Regions from separate parts of the Homo sapiens genome. Here regions 1 and 2 are each linked to region 3. The links are contacts of gene promoters, found by promoter capture Hi-C in blood cells and fetal thymus (Javierre and others, 2016). All regions are on one chromosome and are shown on one strand. The core of a region is centred on a gene start or on the middle of the fragment in contact, and the rest is flanking DNA. Distances in the headings are between cores, read along the strand shown. Region 1 has its middle 100 kb from the start of LINC02667. Region 2 has its middle 140 kb from the start of LINC02667. Region 3 holds the start of EBF3 (EBF transcription factor 3).

The links. The method cuts DNA at HindIII sites, captures the fragments that hold promoters and counts their contacts. A CHiCAGO score of 5 or more calls a contact.
Region 1: a fragment that was not itself captured here is called in contact with the fragment with the promoter of EBF3 in region 3 in 5 of 17 cell types (naive CD8 T cells, megakaryocytes, naive CD4 T cells and 2 more); the score reaches 8.8 in naive CD8 T cells.
Region 2: a fragment that was not itself captured here is called in contact with the fragment with the promoter of EBF3 in region 3 in 1 of 17 cell types (endothelial precursors); the score reaches 6.1 in endothelial precursors.

What each region holds. Positions count from the first base shown.
Region 1 is chr10:129,012,687-129,015,386 of GRCh38, forward strand. No RefSeq gene overlaps it. Among named protein-coding and RNA genes, the nearest start is that of LINC02667, 100 kb to the left of the region's middle. The HindIII fragment of the contact is 1,527 bases long and covers 526-2,052 here.
Region 2 is chr10:129,049,097-129,051,796 of GRCh38, forward strand. No RefSeq gene overlaps it. Among named protein-coding and RNA genes, the nearest start is that of LINC02667, 140 kb to the left of the region's middle. The HindIII fragment of the contact is 3,922 bases long and covers 1-2,700 here.
Region 3 is chr10:129,962,928-129,965,627 of GRCh38, forward strand. It overlaps EBF3 (EBF transcription factor 3), which reads right to left and starts at 1,347. Exons shown (of 17, transcript NM_001375380.1): 1 at 708-1,347; 2 at 440-596; 3 at 15-78. The coding sequence starts at 841. RefSeq lists an enhancer at 1,474-2,445. The HindIII fragment of the contact is 12,336 bases long and covers 1-2,024 here.

The DNA of each region.
Region 1 (2,700 bases), core at 39-2,538, 950 kb before region 3:
TACTTCATTCCTAAGTTGCCCTCAATCAAAGTGATGACGTCTACATTCAGCCAAGTGTGGCCATCTGGGAACATGACCCCAGCTACATCGGTTCCTTTAGACACACCCCTAAAGCCCTGAATCAACAGAAGGACCCCAGTGAAGAGGGTGCAGGACTCTTCCAAAGGAGACAAGTTCAAGATGCTCCCTCCACACCAGTGCAGCAGACAGAGACCATGGGGGTAGTCAACAGGGTCGGCCTGTGCTGGCAGTGGCACTGCCCCCATAGGTAGTTTGGAAACAGTATTCTGGAAGAGAATAAAATGAGGCACATTGGCCTTTGTGGCTTCCTCTATTTAAAATGGGTTTGATAGAAAGCAAAAGAGAAAAATGAAAAATGTTATTTTGATGTTTAGTGTCATATTGACATACTATGAATCTTACACATCTATCATTCAATGATATTTAATGTTGTGACATTTAAGATAAACATTTATACTAGTTCCTAGTGTGAACTCTCTAGGATATTTTCCAAATATCAGAGAAAGCTTTCTTGAAGTTAATCTCCCACAGGGGATTATTTTTTTTTAAAACAGTATTTTCAACTACAGCTGGTCTAAGGCCTTTTGTTCATTCCAAACACACAGAAAGACAGAGTCATGCAGTCAATATACAGGTTTTTCCATCAATTTAACAAATAAATAAATTGAGAATGGACTACGAACATCCAGCATGATGCCTAAATACTTACAATTTAAAAAGATAGCCATGAAGCGGCAAATCTCTTTCTAAAGCTACCTTCAGTGCGGTAAAAATGGGTTGTGCCTAAATATACATTCAAAAGGTGTTTACCTGATTTACCTGACTCACAGTGAAGCAAGAGGTTTGCAGACCTGAACTGCAGGGAGATTCAACCCTGCTGATGGCGGCCCACCTTCCACTTGGCCTGGGCCATGATGGTGGCAGTGAGAAGTCAGCTGGCTGGATGCAGGTCCCAGGAGTTCAGAGACTGAGCTCCTTGAAGGATAGTGGGTGACCAGGCTGGGCCATGCAAAAGGCCTGAATCTTCTGGCTTAGGAGTCAGCCAAAGTCCCCAGATAACCATAAAGCAACTAACTACCATGGCCTCCTTTCTGAGTCCAGCCATTGAGGGTGCCATGGACCCTCCAATCTGTGTCCTCTGCCCCAGCCCCTTGGAGGAAAAAGCCATTCCCTCAAGTAGCCCTCCCCCTATTGCCTTCTACAACCTACAGTAGTTTAGTAGACTGTCCTGCTCCCCAAGCCAGTCACCCCAGAACAGATATCAGCTGGTTGATCAACAGAGACAGTTAAAGTGAGGATTAAGTATTTATCATAATCAGTATTATTTGTAAAATTAGAATATATTATGATATAGTAAATATTCACTTACTTGTATACATGTTTGTATACACACACACACACACACACATACATGAATATACATGTAACCTAACTGTATTATTTTAATTGCCATTTCTCTATTTGGTCATCTTTGAGGGTGGGCCTACAGAATCCAAGCCCTTTCATCTTATCTTTCTTCTGTTAATTGCATCTCAGTATGCTGCCTACAATTGTTCAAGTTCACAGTTACTTGTAAATATTCTATGCAAGTCTCCCCAAGTGTAGCAGCAGCCTAGATTTTTGTAATTTCCCCTAGTCTTTTAGAATTGTCTTTCTAGACTGTTAGCACTTCTCTCTCATCATTGTGGTCACATCTTCCTGGTCCTAAAAAACTCCTTCCTCAGTCCACCCCCTCTTTCTACTCCTGCCTTCTCTCTTTTCTCCTGTAAACAAGGAAACTCAAGTCTTCTGTCCTGTCTCCACCACCTCACCAACCACTCACTCCTCAACTTCACTTACTGAAACATGCTTTCTAATGAATAATGGAGCAGAGTCAATGCTGGTAAGAAGATACGTTACATTAAATATAATGTCCATGGATTTGGGATCCTGATTGAAAAATGACTTCAAGAAGATAAAACTTACCGCTCATCTGGATAACAGTTAAAACATCCAAAACAGGAATACATGGTACTCCGTAAGGAAAGACAAAGCTTGAAGCAACAAAGACTTCATGACTCAAACACCAAAAGCAATGGCAACAAAAGCCAAAGTAGACAAATGGGATCTAATTAAACTAAGGAGCTTCTGCACAGCAAAAGAAACTACCATCAGAGTGAACAGGCAACCTACAGAATGGGAAAAAATTTTTGCAATCTACCCATCTGACAAAGGGCTAATATCCAGAATCTACAAAGAACTCAAACAAATATACAAGAAAAAAACAAACAAGCTCATCAAAAAGTGTGTAAAGGATATGAACAGATACTTCTCAAAAGAAGACACCTATGCAGCCAACAGACACATGAAAAAATGCTCATCATCACTGGTCATCAGAGAAATGCAAATCAAAACCACAATGAGATACCATCTCACACCAGTTAGATTGGCAATCATTAAAAAGTCAGGAAGGAATAGATGCTGGAGAGGATGTGGAGAAATAGGAATGCTTTTACACTGTTGCTGGGAGTGTAGACTAGTTCAACCATTGTGGAAGACAGTGTGGCAATTCCTCAAGGATCTAGCACTAGAATTACCATTTGACCCAGCCATCCCATTACTGGGTATATACCCAAAGGATTATAAATCATGCTGCTATAAAGACACATGCACACATATGTTTATTACAGCACTCTTCAC
Region 2 (2,700 bases), core at 30-2,529, 910 kb before region 3:
TAAAAGGCTTTGTTTGGGGAGCAGTTTTAGGGTAACAGAACAATGAAGCAGAGGGGACAGAGGGTTACCATATGCCCTCTCAGCCTGCCCGTCCATGTACCCCCAGAGGTTCCCTGAAGATGAGGACCTTGCATTGGCTGGTATATTTGTTACAATTGATGAGCCAATGCTGATTCATTATTATTAACCAAGTCCACAGTTTACATTAGGGTTTGCTGCCTGTGCTGTATATTCTGTGGATTTTGACAAATCATAATGTCATGAATCCACCACCACAGTAACACATGCAGGAGAGTTTTCTGGCCCTAAAATTCCCCTTTGCTCTCTCTCCCTCCCATCCAGTTCCTGGCAAACACTGATGATGTCTGATTTTATAAAACACTGTCAGAGTGCTTAACATGTACCAAGGACATTCTGAGGCCATTATTTGCATGACTTTATCCACCTTCATAACAATCTGTAAGGAAGTTATTATTCTAATCTTCATTTTTAAATGAGGATCGAGGCACAGAGAGTGTGTGACTTGCCTGCGGTCACACAGCTGGTGAAGGGCTGCAATGAAACCCACCATCTGGCCCCAGTCCTTGCTCTTCCCACCGTGCTGTAGGGGCAGATGGGGGTCCAGCTGTGAGTTATGAATGAGCATGGGGCGGGGCAGTGGAGACATTATCCAACACGGTTCTGTGCTGCCAAAGACGAAGGGTGTCAGGTTAAAAAAAGATTACAAGGTAGACCAAAAATAACAATGCCCATTATCCGACAACCATTTCTCTTAGGACATAGACCTGATGCCAGAGAGTGTCAAAAAGAGCAAAGGACTGAGCACTTGCCATGCACTGCACCCTGCTCAAAGCCTCTGATCTTAATTATCTCATGTGACCCTCAAAACAACCCCAAGAAAGCAGCACCAGAATCATCCCAGCATCGTCCCACTTTACAGACGAGCACACTCCACACTAGAATGCTTCTGTGAGTTGCCGAATCTGAACACCTGGCGAATCCAGGGCTGGGATTTGAACCCAGAGGTGTCCCTCCTGGCCCATGCTCCAGCCCCTTTGCTCTGTCAGACATGGACTAAACTGAGCCGTGAGCCGTGAGCTGTGAGCCATTCCAGCTGGGGCTGTCATGATCTGTGCAGGTCACTCGACCTCTCTGGGCCACATTTGCAAAAGGTTTCTGTGGGTCATTCCAACCCTCAGATTGGAGTCCTCTTTCAATCCATGATGCTAAATTTCCATGTGCATAAAATACATGGATTATTGGTGCAGCTCTAGCCTGAACACTGAAAACCTTGGTTCTTCTTTGCAAAAAAGCATCAGGTGTGACCTGAGCCCAGGGAGTCAGCCCTCACCAGGGCTCCTGTGGGGTAGAGCCTGGCTGGCCACTGGCTTCCATGGGGTCCCACCAACGCCAATTGGCCATGAAGACAGGGCTAGGATGCAGGCAGAGCAGGGCCAGGACCTCCCCTGACTGGGGCCATCTCAGTGCCTGCCCTGGTGGGTCACAGGTCCCTCCACTGGCTGCTGTTACCGGGGAGGAGGCTGACACAGACCGGACCTCCTGGAGCAGTTCCACCAGGTAGGGACCGGCCACAGGAAGGGGTCAGGCCATTGCTCTTATAGAAATTGTTCAGGGAGAAGCACTAGACCTTAAACAGGGCGCTTCAAGTGATGGGGGCATTGCTGTGGCCTTAGGCCCAGCCATCTACATGTGAGGAGATGAATAGGTCTTGGCCTGTTGGGTGATGGGGAGCAGGAAGCTGGTGCTGCCTGGCTTCCCAGCTGGGTAAAGTCTCCATCACCCTGTCTGTAAAATGTCCAGGTTCTCCCAGAGAATGGTGGCTCCCTCTGTCCGAGCCAGTTGGCGAGCAGAGCCCCTACAGTAACTCCCAGGCCCACGTCCTCATCAGGACCTGGAGTCCAGGCTGCTGCCTACTTATTTCGGAGACTATGCAGCAGCCATGATTCTCAGCCTCAGGAATTAACCCTGTTTTCAAGGTTGTTCGCTGTCCATCCCCTCACCTGCTCCCTACCTGATCTGATCCTGTCTCCCCAGCCCATCCTCTCCAAAGCCTTTCAAGTTTGAAGTCAGCTGCACTGATGGGTCACACCTGAGTTCCAACTGCCCAGCCATCAGGAGATGGATCTGGCCTGGGTCCTTGCAGTTCCTTCCTTGTATGAGCATGACAGCCTCAGTGCAGAGGTCCCTGTGAGGAGGGTAGCTGCCCCCAGTACCCAGCCCTGTGAGGAGAGGTAGCTGGCCCCAACACCCAGAGAGCTGTCACTGTCACGTGGGGAGAGGTGGCAGCTCCAAGAGTTGAACTGGGACTGGCGAAGGGAGTGGAGGAAGCTCATGAGTAAGGTGGACTGCCCAGCCAGCAGGCATGGTCAGAATGGTGTTTCATGAGTTCTTTCTAACTGGATGGTGGTGGAGAAAGAAATGGGCTGCCCCAGCACTCAGAGGTTCCTGGTGGCTCCAAGAATGAGTCATAAACAGGTGGACCATACATCCTTTCATTCAAACACTCATTGAAAACACACTTTCCAAAGACATGGAATCAACCCCAATGTCCATCAGTGATAAATTGGATAAGAAAATATGGTACATATACATTGTGGAATACTGTGCAGCCATAAAAATGAACAAGATTATGTCCTTCGCAGGGACATGGATGGAGCTGGATGCCATTATCCTTAACAA
Region 3 (2,700 bases), core at 97-2,596:
CAGCAGGCACTTACCGTTGCTGTACAATAACTGGAGTTTATAGTGGATGCCGTTGTTGGTTTTCTCGTTGTTTGGCTCCTGAAAGTAACGATAAATAATTGCATTTAGTGCGATCGGTGTCAGGCGCGGCCACCACGCTCGGTCCCCCTCCGCGACCGAGGCTCTCGGCCTCACACATGGCAGGATTCCTAGCTCGAAGCAGCGCGGTGATGTCACTTTCCTGCTGGAAGCCCAGCGTTCTCCTCGCCCCGAGTAAGTCCGAGGGCGCAGAGAAGTTGCCCAGCCCTCGGCGGTCCCGGGCGGCCGCACGTGGCGGCGGCGGGGTGGCCTGGCGGAGCCGAGCCCGCCGCCTAGGGGGGCACTCGAACCCCCGCGCACCGGCACCGCCTGCCTCCCGCTTCTAGAAAGAGAGAGGGTGTGATCGTGTGTTTGCACTTACTTTCTCTTTCTCCACAAAGTCCACAAAAGCGGTCCTTTCAATCTCCACCGGCTGCCCCTGCCTATCGTAGAGCGCCAGCACGAAGTGGAAGAAATTGGATTTCCGGAGGTTGGAAGGCGGCTGCTTCTCGAAGTGCGCCCGCGCCAGCCCCACGCCGCTGCGGGAGGAAAGAGACAGCGGCCCGGTGAGGAGCGCGGCGCCGGCCGGCGGAGGGGGCCGGGCCGGGCCGGGGCCGGGGCCAGGGCGCGCGGGGGCGGCCGGTACGTACCTCTGGGCGGCCGTGTTGGCGTCCACCACGCCCGCCGTGTGCATCCACGAGCGCACCGGGTTCATGCCGCTGCCCAGCGGCTCCTCCTTCATGGTCGTCCCCCCGCGCGGAATATTCTCCTGAATCCCAAACATGAAAACTGCTGGCGGCGGCCGCAGCTCCCGGCCGAAAGCGTTTCCTCGAGCAGCGGCGCTCGGGGCTTGGCGGCAGGCGGCTGCCCTGGCCGCCCTCGCCCTGCTCGGCGCCTGCGGTCCGGCCCCGCCGCCGGCTTCAGCCCGTCCCGGGCAGGCGCGACATACACCAGCGGCCGGGCGCTCCGGACGGCCAGGGGCGCGGAGGCGGCTCCACCGGCGGCGGCGGCGCTTCGAAGGAGCAGGACGCGGTGGCCGCGGCGGCGCTTGTTGTTGTTGTTGTTTGCAGGCGCGCTCAACGTGGTGTCATCCTAGCCAGGCGGCGTCCGCGGCTGCAGGACACTGCGGGATCGCCCGCTTCTGGCGCGGCCCGCCTGCTCCAAAGACAAATAAACGGGGCAGTGAGTGCTGCGGCGCAGTCCCGGGCGCAGGCGGGGCGCGGCGGGGCCTGGAGCGGCGCGCGCAGCGGACGGAGGCGCACAAAACTCAGCCCTCTCTCCCCGAGGAATGGACCCTTTCCCGGGAGCCAAAACTCGAAGCCCCCGGGAGCGGCGCTGTCAGAGGGTGACGTCGGGGGGCGGTGCCTGCGCCATATATGGGAGCGGCCGCCCCTCGCCGCGCCCCTCGCCGCCGCCGCCGCCGCGCTCGCCGACTGACTGCCTGACGGCGCCGCGAGCCGGCCCGAGCCCCGCGAGCCCCGCGAGCCCCGCCGCCGCCGAGCGCCACCGAGCGCCGCCGCCGCCCCCCGCCACGCACCGCGGCTCCTCGCGTCCAGCCGCGGCCAAGGAAGTTACTACTCGCCCAAATAAATCTTGAAAAGAAACAAACGCAGCCACTGCACAATTGCAGTTTGGCCCCTTAATACCTCCCTGCAAAACCTGCCACACAGTCGAACACGATGGGCGGGGCGGGGGGCTGTAAAATGCTGAGGCGCCCCAAGTTGCCCAGATGCATGCAATAAATGCAAGGGGCTGCAGCTTGTCCTGGGGCCGCCCGAAGGAGAAGTGGGAAGAGGCAGGTCGACCGCAGGGAGGGCGCCGGAGGGAGGAGCGGGCAACGGACTGGGAGGAGGGGTGCCCAGGGCTCCCCGGCCAAGGCTGGACGCGCAGCTCAGCCTGATTTCTAAGCAGACCTAAGGCTGCTGCAGGGCCGGCCGGTCCCGGTCTGAGCCCCGCCAGGTACCCCAAGCTTCCTACCCCGGCGGAGGCCGCCGAGTGCCGGGCAGGGAATCACGTCGGAGGCAGGGTCTGCCAGATGCTCCCTCTCCCCCGGTGGCCGCGGCAGACCCCGGCCCCTGGCCTGTTCTTACGCACAGCGAGTGACAAAGAAGGCTCCGGTCTCTCCGGGCCGACGGGAAGCGCGCCCGGCCTCTCCGGCGACCCGGAGCCGGGTGTCTGGCTGCGCGACCTGCGCGGTGGCCAGACCGCCCTGGAGCCAACTGCTCCAAAAACCAAGCGGACGCCGCGGGCGCTGTGGCCCGGCCCTCGGAGCCGCCGGACCCGGGTGAGCGCGCGGCGCGCGGCTTCCCGACCTGGTTTCTAGGAATCGGGAGGGCAGCCGGGCGCGGGCAGACTGTGGGCCCCGCGGCCCAGCTCCTGTAGCCGGGACTCCGCGCCCAGGAGCGCGGCCCGCCCAAAGGACGTCTGCGCGACACGGAGCAGAGACCCAGGGGACGACCAGGAACTGTCCTAGGCACTTCCCTGCCAAGAGAAATCAGGCCCTTTTGATTAAAAGAAAAAAAAAAAAAAGATTGCAGGGCGCAAGTGTGTTGCAGGGCAGCCTCCTCCCGCCGGGTCTGGGGCAGCACTCCCTTTTCCCGTGAATTGGCAGCGTGTGTACGTTAATATTTTAATTAATCGGGA